Linked DNA regions of Homo sapiens: region 2 is linked to region 1. The links are contacts of gene promoters, found by promoter capture Hi-C in human tissues and cell types (Jung and others, 2019). All regions are on one chromosome and are shown on one strand. Each heading gives the region's core, a stretch centred on a gene start or on the middle of the fragment in contact. The rest is flanking DNA. Distances are from core to core; before and after follow the strand shown. Region 1 holds the start of COMMD2 (COMM domain containing 2). Region 2 has its middle 46 kb from the start of COMMD2.

Region 1 (5,071 bases), core at 1-2,500:
AGATGATATGATTTTTATTTTTTAGGTATGTCTTCAAAAAATCAATTATAAACCATTAACAACATTATTAAAACACACAGGTACCTGCCAGGACTATGATGTAGAGTACACCAGACCGTTCTTAAGAATCCAGCCAACACAAAACAGTCCAGAAAATCCCTTACCATGAGCTTTGAGCTCTCAGTGAGGAGATACGTTAATCCTTCCACACCATGCTGGACAGTGTCACTACTCACATTGAGTTTTCCTGAGAAAGAAAAGTAAAAACGAGCAAATAAATTACTACTGTAGTATTTATCTTGTTCATATTTGTATTTAAAAATAAACACTATTCATTATTACATGTTTTCAAACACTGCATGAAAAACAGTAAGTTGGCCAGAGGCTCCTGCTCCTTGTCATTCCACTCCCAGCCAAATGCCTTTGGTATTTCCCACCAAGTAACCTTAACAAAATGCAGAACTGTGGAGACTAGTATCAGGTGCGTAGCCCTTCTCTTGAATACGTAGCTCCTTCAAGTCTGGCAGAAGAGGAACTCGACAGGGATTGACTTAATCCCAGAGACTGCCTCTTACCCAGGGGTAAAACAACACTTTTTTTTTTTTTTTTAGCAAAAGCGGATATCTGAACAACTAATAATGATAACCAAATACTTGCAATTTACAGTTGACCCAGCTATTCCACAGACTTTGGTATATTTATACAAAACACTTTTCAGTATTTCTGAAAGTAAGGTGGTATTATGTACATTTTACCATGAGAAAACTGATTTAATAGAAGCTTTAACAATCTCACAGCTACTTAAGGGACGGGCAGGATTTGCACCCTGACTGAAGAGCTCTGCTGGTTTTATTCTACTACAATCGGAACAAGACCCTAGGACTCGCAATAATCCGTTTCTCTCCCGGGAGACAGGGAATGGCTCGCAACCGCCCTAGAAGCCTGCGGAGCCTTCCCCTTTCCCTTCTTACTGGCGGCGCCTTCGTAGATTTTTGGGTTTGCGCCGCGTCTCAGGAATTCCACAGCAATCCGCCCAAACTCGGCGACCACTGCAATGAAAGTCAGAAGGCTGTTGAGTGCCAGGCGCTGCCTTTGACCTCCTCCCCAGCCCACAGAACACCGCCCCCACGCCCGCTGACCCGCGCTGTCCACTTGAGGCAGGAAGGCCAGGTGTTCCTTATGCTCCTCGGACAATTCCAGCAGCATCTTCACTGTCCTACGATTTCACCCGGCAGCGCCGACCCCGCCTTCGCCACTTCCGGCGCCCGTGTCCCGGCGCCTAGAGGCTCCGGCGTCGCAGCGTCCGGAGCTTTGGGTTCCGGCCTACGAACTAACGCGTTACACTCGGACGTTCCCTGCAGCGCAGGCTGAGGTCAGAACATTGAAATCATCCCGCAAAGATGCAGTGAGCGCCTGCTGGGTGCAAGGTGCTAGGCTCTATGGGAGATGAAAAGGTGTTTCAAATCCGACACGCCCCCTCGTGGAGCATACATTAATAATATCAATAGTTCACATTTGTTAAGCACTAACCGTGTCAGGAAGTGTTCTTACATTTATTAAATACATTTGGAGTTCAGAAGAACCCTATGAGGTAGGTTCCATTATAATTTCCATTAGAGATAAGGAAACTGATAGACAAGTCCAGCAACTGACACTTTTATAAAGCTAATAGTTTCCAGAGCTTCTATGTTATCTTAAATGTATCTCAGTTAATATCCTCAACAAACATGGCTTTGTTTTTACAGATAAGACACAAAGCTCCAGAGATTATGTGACAAAGCCTGTGACAGAGTTAGATGGAGAGGGTTGGATCCCTCACTTACCTGCTGCAAAGCCCATCCTTCTACATAACAGCCTGAAAGCTGAAAGCTTCTGACAAGTTTTATGAGTGATTATAAATTAGGATAAAGATAATGATGACAATGACCGATGCTTACAGGATTCAGAGCAATGTTTTTGTTTGTTTGTTTTGTTTTGTTTTGTTTTTTACATGGAGTCTCGCTCTGTCGCCCGGCTCACTGCAACCTCTGCCTCCCGGGTTCAAGCGATTCTCCTGCCTCAGCCTCCCGAGTAGCTGGTATTACAAGCGCCCACCACCATGCCTGGCTAATGTTTGTATTTTTAGTAGAGACGGGTTTTCACCATGTTGGCCAGGCTGGTCTTGAACTCCTGACCTCAAGTCATCCAGCCAACTTGGCCTCCCAAAGTGCTGGGATTACAAGCATGAACCACCACACCTGGCCCAGAGCAATGCCTTTTAAAAAGTATTTAGCGCCTGTGATAATTTAGTTCCTTTTCCAACTCTCTTCTCACCTGCTGTGGTTCAAATATCAGAGATGATAAAGTTGCTAATTGATAGGAATATGATTCTTCAAATCTTAACCCCTTGAAAATGGAGGGTGTGGAGGAAGAGAGGGGAAGGGAAGAAGACTCTTCATATCTGTCTTTTCTATCTAAGGCTTGAGACAACTCTATATTCTGAGTCTCCCAGGCAGACTAAAAATTGGAAGAGTTTTTCAATTCACTTCTCTGTGTCTACTTTGTCCTTCACATCTGACTGAAATTGTTTCTTCCACTGGGACACAGAAAGACAGGTCCTTGAACTTATTAGTTAGTTCTTGAAGTAGCATTTGCAGAGAGAACACAACTTTTACTTAGACTGTGAATTGCAGATTAGCAAAAATTGCATCATTTCCTGAAGTTGCCTTTATTCACACATTATTGAGAAAACATCCATTATTAAAGAATAATTTTCAGAAAAGGTAAAATCATGATTCTTCTACAAGTGTACAATGAACACATGTCAAAAAATGTATTGAACTAGTTAATTAATGAGAGAATTACAGCATTCTGTAATTAATGAGAGATTACAGTAAAAACCAGTTTCAACTGATTCAAAAGAGGTATTCAAGAACTGTACATATATAGGGAGTAGGAATGCTGAAATGAATTTGCAAATAGACACAATATTATGCCAATATGAAATGGCCTTTCTTGTCTGTAATCTCAGGGAATGAAGTGAGGACAGGCGAGGTGAAGGTGAGACTAGGGAGTAGCACAATAGGCTGTCTAAAAAAGGTGGTCAAGGAACCAAGTTAGGCCAGGTATGGTGGCTGATGCCTGTAAACCCAGCACTTTGGAAGGCCAAGGCGGGAGGATCACTTGAGGCCAGAAATTCAAGTCTAGCCTGACCAACATGGTAAAACCCCATCTCTACTAAAAATACAAAAATTAGCAAAGCTTGGTGGCATGTACCTGTGGTCCCAGCTACTTGGTAGCCCAAGGCATGAAAATTGCTTGAACCTGCGAGGCAGAGGTTGCAGTGAGCAAGATTTGAGTCACTGCACTCCAGCCTGGGTGACAGAGTCAGACACTGTCAAAAAAAAAAAAAAGAAAGAAACCAAGTTATATCCAAGAAAAACCAGCCTGGGAGTTAAAACACCCCAGGATAATTTATAGAGTGACTTCTGTTGCCATAAGTGATATAATTGTTTAGAAAAAATTACCTGAGTGAAAATTCAAAACTCTAGATTCCAGATCTGGCTCTGACACTACCTGTATGACTTCTAATAAGTTGTTTTTATGTTATAACCATAGCCTCTTCGTCTGTAAAACTGGCATTTTAATACTGCCCTTCTGTGCCATGCAGGGCTGTTATGATGCTCAGATGAACTAATAAATTCACATTAAAAATTGATTTTGATGATCAAATGAAACAATAAATTAGAATTAAGCAAACAGCAGCATTTACATTTTATAGGAGCAGATTTTATGCTCCTATAAATTCACAAATAATCATCTTAAAAGCCATTCATTTAATTTAACAAACTTTATTAAGCAATTCCTTAAAGGTTCAAAGATATGCTATGCTTTGGCAATTTGTAGATGAATAAAACAATGTCCTTGCCCTCTAGGAGGTGTCAGAAAAGTGAGGGAGAAAGATAATGAAGTAATTTCCATACAGTGTGATGAGTAGCAATACTTGGAGAATGAACAAAATGAGAAGGAAGCATAGGGAATGTACATTAACTCTAATTTAAAAGAATCAGGCTGAGAATAAATGTCCCAGCATATCCTGTGCATGTTAATACTAATGCTCTACAATTAGATTTACATTATAAATATATACAGTCTTAATGTCACTTCATGCTATCTTACTTCCAGGGTGAATGTGAACAAATAATAAATACTCAGTATTTTTTTCAATTGATGCTGGTAGAGAACAAGGCTTCATATCAATCATCCCCTCACATTCTCTCTGCATCTTTCTATCCCCCTCCAGCTCATACGTCTTTCTTTTCTCTTATATTTTCCCATTTATTTTCTCCTTCTTAGGTATTCTAGCCCAGAATCCTTGCACAGGATATTTCCTTAGCTGTGTTTCAATGACACATAAAATATTATCACCCCCTGCAAGGAATTACAGCTCAATTCACTATACTGTCAAGAGGACAATAACGTGGTGACAAGCCTCACTCACACCAGCCACCTTCTCATGACTCTAAAGCTGGCACCAAATGCATGAATTAGCTCCTGACATTTTAAAAAATTATTTTAATTCATTAAAAAAATGTATTATAAATGCAAACAGAAAAGGGTACAGATTTTTTAAATACTCATTGTTGAATCTTCTCAAATTAAACACACCTATTACTCCAGAACAAGAAATAGAATGTTACAACACCCCAGAATTTCTGCTGTGCCTCCTGCCAGTCACTATCATCTCTTGTTTTCTCTATAGTGAACTAATACCTATACACATGCTGCCTTACAACATCCCTGTAGAATCATCTATGTGTGTGAATGCGTGTGTGAGTGTCTGCACGTGCATGTGTGTGTGTTTGTATTAACCTTTGTGCCCCAACCCAGCAATATCTAATTGGGAACTCAAAGGCATTTTTTAGAATGAGCCTTAGATTTTAGGCGCCTCTGACTATTTTACCAAAATCTATCTTATAATCATCTTAGTAAATTGCCTCTAAAATATAAAATATTTAGAAAAAAACTTTAACAGACGATTTGCAAGACCTATACACTAAAATTTACAAAACTTTGCTGAGAGGAATTAAGA
Region 2 (5,071 bases), core at 1,132-3,631, 46 kb before region 1:
TAAAGATGGCTGATTGAACAAATGTGTTTACCCCCAAACCTCTATTAAATTAAAAATAAAAGGATTTTAACAAATTAAAAGGGGGAGAAAATAATGACAGCAACAAAATTTTAAGAGCTAAAAAATAGGATACTTTGCATATCACGTAACAAACTAAGAAGGCTAAATTCTAAATCAGCACAGGGGAAACCAAGAAGCAAGCCATTTCCCAGGGTAGGCTACCCCAAAAGCCTCCCTCCCAAATGCAGTTTAGTGACTGCTGCAGAAGATATAACAGAGGGTCTCTAAGCCAGAGCTAGGACACTAGGCACGATAAAGACTGGGAATATTATGCTGAAAGCAGACAGATTTGAAAAAAGGCTTATATAATGAAGCACTATTCTCAGTCCAAATTCAACCTCCAGAACAGAGGCAGCCAGCATAAGGAACCATTCTAGGAAGGAGAGGAGACATTTACCTTCTAGAAAACTTGCTCAGACCAAGAAAAAAGACCTAAAGACAAGGACATCCCCCTCCCATAGAAATGGCCCAGACTGATCATTCTAAAGACAAAAGGTAACAAGCTTCATCCATGGCACAGAGGTGCCCATTAGCTCTAAAATACAAGTGAAGGGCCAGAATTATCAGACATCTGAAAAAAGCCCCTACCAAAGAAGAGAGAGACAGAACACACAAAAGTTAAAAAAAAAAAAACAACAACAACAAACAACGAAAAACAAAACAAAACAAAAATTAGAGAGGAAACAAAGTCTTGAGAATATGCAGGGAAATAAAAGCTTTTAAAAAAGCTAATAATATCTTCAGAGAAGTAAAAAGATGTTATAAGAACAGGATGAAATAAAAAGAACAAAAAATAACTCTTAGAAATTTGAAATATAATAATGGAATTTTAAAACTTAGACAGTTTATATGATAAAGTTGAGAAACTAGGAAAATAAAGCTAAAAGACAAAGAAAAGGACAATAGGAAAGAAAAAACAATCAGAGGATCAGTCTACAAGGTACAATATTTCAATAAACAGGAGTTCCAGAAAGAAAGAGAACAGAAAAATTGATGGGGAGGAGCTCATAATAAATCAATAATTCAAGATTTCAAAAACCAAAGGATGTGAGCTGCCAGATTGATAGCGCCCCCAAAATACCTAGACAATGGATGAAAATAGACCATTGTGAAATGTCAGACCCTTAGAAATAGGAGAAAATCCAACAAGCTTTCAGAGGGAAAAAGCAGGTATCAAGACCAAGAATTCAAATGTCAGAAAACAATATGAGATAGTAATCATGAACTTGTAGTTGTACAAGAGACAAGATGCCATTTTCAGTTTCTACAAAATAAAGTGAAACAGTAGGTAGAACTTTAAAGTAACACTTAGGGGGAGAAACCCTGATTCCAAAACATATATCTGTTGGGCAGGAAATTGAAAGCAAATGCTCAGTGTTTTGGAGTTGGATTGCAAAATAGATTATAGCAGGGATTTCTTCTTAATCCTTATATATCAACAAAACCACAGTAAGAATAGCTAACCTGGACAACTAATCATTAAGCACTGAAAACATATATTAGCTTGTGCACTCCTCATGACAATTCCAACTGGCAAAAATAGTTATAATTTTCAAAATGAAGTTATGCTAATTAAGTAATTTTCTCAAAGTTTCATATAATTGGGTAAGAGGAGGAGCTAGAATTCAAACTCCAAAATCTGTTTATTTAACTACTATGCCACACAGCCCTGAAAAATAATGTTGCAGTGCGGTGGCTCATTTCTGTAATCCCAGCACTGTGGGAGGCCAAGGCGGGTGGATTGCTTGAGTCCAGGAGTTTGAGACCAGCCTGGGCAATATTTGAAACTCCGTCTCTACAAAAAATACAAAAATTAGCCAGGTGTGGTGGCATGTGCCTGTAGTCCCAGCTACTCAGGATAAGGGGCTGAGGCAGGAGGATTGCTTGTGCCTGGGAGGTGGAGGCTGCAGTGAGCTGAGATCACACAATATACCACTGCAGTCAAGCCTGGGTGACAGAGAGAGACTCTGTCTCAAAAGAAAAAATAAAAAAGAAAAAAAGAAAAAGAATGTTCACATGTAAATTTTTCGTGCACATTCTATAATGTTCACATTTAAATATTTGTAAACCTTAGTATTTCTACTAACACTGACTTCTTTTATTTTTTGAGACAGAATTTCACTCCTGTTGCCCAGGCTGGAGTGCAATGGCGTGATCTCGGCTCACCACAACCTCCGTCTCCTGGGTTCAAGAGATTCTCCTGCCTCAGCCTCCCGAGTAGCTGGGATTATAGGCATGCACCACCACGCCCGGCTAATTTTGTATTTTTAGTAGAGACAGGGTTTCTCCATGTTGATCAGGCTGGTCCCGAACTCCTGACCTCAGGTGATCCACCCGCCTCAGCCTCCCAAAGTGCTGAGATTACAGGAGGTTGGCCACCATGCCTGGCCAACACTGACTTCTTAGAGATAGCAGAAAAAGGTGTATCAGAACTCTATTTTATATCCTTATATTTTGAGCAAGAGGGAACAAGGAGAAAGAAGGGAGATCATCTTAATATTATTATAAAGTAAAACACTATTTTATGAACTTTTTAGAATAGAATATCTTGCTGAGCTGGCAGGACTTCTAGGAAACCTTTTAAGAAAAGGAAGGTCTCAGTGATACATATACAAAACAAAGCAGCAATATTTCAGTTTTAGCTGGACTACCACTCAATTGCTCCGTGGTATTAGTGCCAAAACTACAATAAGGTTTTGCGCAAGACTTTTATAAGTTGGTCTGACAGCCATTTTTATTTACACAAGCCACCCCCCAACCCCAATACTGAATTTTCCATATTAATGTGTTTCCATTGTTCTCAGATGGGCCTTCAGTAACTTTAGCCCTCTTCCAGATGTTTCCTGACATCAGCATCCAAGATGTGCTGGCCAGCTGTCTTTAAAATTGCGGGAACTCTGTGTTGTGTGCATTAGTTATGCAAATGGAAAAGCAAGGACAAGGAGCCAATGTAGAGGATAAAAAAGAACTAGGGGAGGGATTGGCCAGGCTTCACTAGCACATGCAGTGTAGGGAGAAAGCCAAGACAGCAAGCTGTCTTTGATCAAAGCCCCCAGCAAACTTCACCACCGCTCCCCATGCAGAGGGGTTAGTGTCCTCAGTTTCCAGGCCAGGCCTGGGTTTTTGGAAGCTTCCTCAGTCTGTTTTGGTGACTTAATAGGGACACATTGAATATTCACAGATTTATCAACTATCTAACCAGTTTCTCCTCTGCTTCCCTTTGTCAACTAAGAAATATCTTCACGAACAGGAGAACAATTCCCCAAAGTGTAGTCCTCATTAAATTAATAGATGTTTTATGAAAAAAAAGGCAGGGCAGTCACATGAGTTTAGGAAAACCTAGGTTTAACAAAATTAAGCAATTCCCTTTCCCAGAACACTCTGAGGGCCTCTGATATATTCATGTGCACTGTGAATATCAGAGGGAATCATTTCTCAGAGGACTCAGAGCCTACCTAAGGAAATGCTACACTAGAGGCAATGTAGGTTCTCAGCTCCAGTCACCCTTTCAGGAGGCAAACTGACTGCCAATTGAATATGTTTGCATGTCCCCAAACATATGTGTCTCTTACTGAACTTGCAATAGTCTCTACCGCCTGCTCAGGCTCCAGCTTCCCCTTTCTGGGGAAAATTTGGTCATACCAATTGGTATGGCCAACAGTATGGTATGGTCATACCAATTGGTATGGCCAACAGTATGGTATGGCCATACCAATACTGTTCTCCTAAACTAGAATTATGGTAATGGTCCTCTGCCTGATTCCTTTGTCCTAACCAGTGCCCTCTCTCGTCTAATCAATCCTGCAGTAAAGGGCTACTGCTTTGTCTTCCTAGCCTCAGGCCTGTACCCCAGCTCATGACTGGACATTTCTACTTGGTGCACTATAGAACACCGTACCTGGACATGTAAGTGACTGAGTTCATGTCTTCCTCACTCAACAGGCATTTTTCCCCAAACTCTCTATTTCTCTCAATAACGCAGACTCACTATGGTCTAAATATGACTGACAACATTTTTTTTCTTGTTGGTTTTTGTTTGTTTTGTTGGTTGGTTGGTTTTGTTTGCTTGCTGGTTTTTTAATTGTGGTAAAATATACCTAATATAACATTTATTATCTTAACCATTTTGAAGTGTACAGTTCAGTAGTACTAAGTACATTCACGTTGTACAACCAATCTTCAGATCTCTTTTCATCTTGCAAAACTGAAACTCTATGCCCATTAAACAACTCCCCATCTCCCCTCAACCCCCACTGCTGCCCTGCTTCTGGTAGCCACCATTCTACTTTCTCTTTCTATGAATTTGACCACTCTAGGTATCTCATATAAGTGGAACATACAGTATTTGTCTTTTTGTGACTGACTTACTTCACTTAATATGTCCTCAAGGTTCATCCATATTATAGTGTGTGTCAGAACTTTTTTCCTTTTTAAGGCAGAATAATATTCTAGCATATGCTATATTTTGTTTATCCATTTGTCTGTTGATGGACACTTAGGTTGATTTCATATCTTGACTATTGTGAATAGTGCTTCAGTGAACATGAAGGTGCAGATATCTTTATGAGATCCTGATTTCAATTCTTTTGGAAATATACCCAGAAGAAGGATTTCTGTATTATACTGTAGTTCTATTTTTAATTTGTTGAAGAATCTCCATACTGTTTTCCATAGCTGTAGTACCATTTTACATTCTCACCAACATCATACTAGTGTTCCAGTTTCTTCACAACCTCACCAATACTTATCTTTTTATTTGGTTTTATTTATATTTATATTTATATTTTATTTTTCTTGAGACACGGTCTCGCTCTGCCACCCACTGCAACCTCTGCCTCCCGGGCTCAAGCGATCCTCCCACCCCAGCCTCCTGAGTACTGGGACTATGGGCACGTGCCACCATGCCTGGATAATTTTTGTATTTTTTGTAGAGAGGGGGCTTTGCCATGTTGCCCAGGCTGGCCTCAAATTCCTGGGCTCAAGCAGTCTGCCTGCCTCGACTTCCCAAAGT

The links. Contacts are between HindIII fragments. The study calls those that stand out against the background at their distance.
Region 2: a fragment that was not itself captured here is called in contact with the fragment with the promoter of COMMD2 in region 1 in 1 of the 25 tissues and cell types used here (adrenal gland).

What each region holds. Positions count from the first base shown.
Region 1 is chr3:149,751,239-149,756,309 of GRCh38, forward strand. COMMD2 (COMM domain containing 2) reads right to left here and starts at 1,251. Exons shown (of 5, transcript NM_016094.4): 1 at 1,140-1,251; 2 at 972-1,049; 3 at 165-247. The coding sequence starts at 1,206. RefSeq lists a silencer at 1,407-1,476. The HindIII fragment of the contact is 2,909 bases long and covers 1-2,554 here.
Region 2 is chr3:149,704,169-149,709,239 of GRCh38, forward strand. It overlaps a transcript of WWTR1 not described here. Among named protein-coding and RNA genes, the nearest start is that of COMMD2, 46 kb to the right of the region's middle. The HindIII fragment of the contact is 5,305 bases long and covers 1-5,034 here.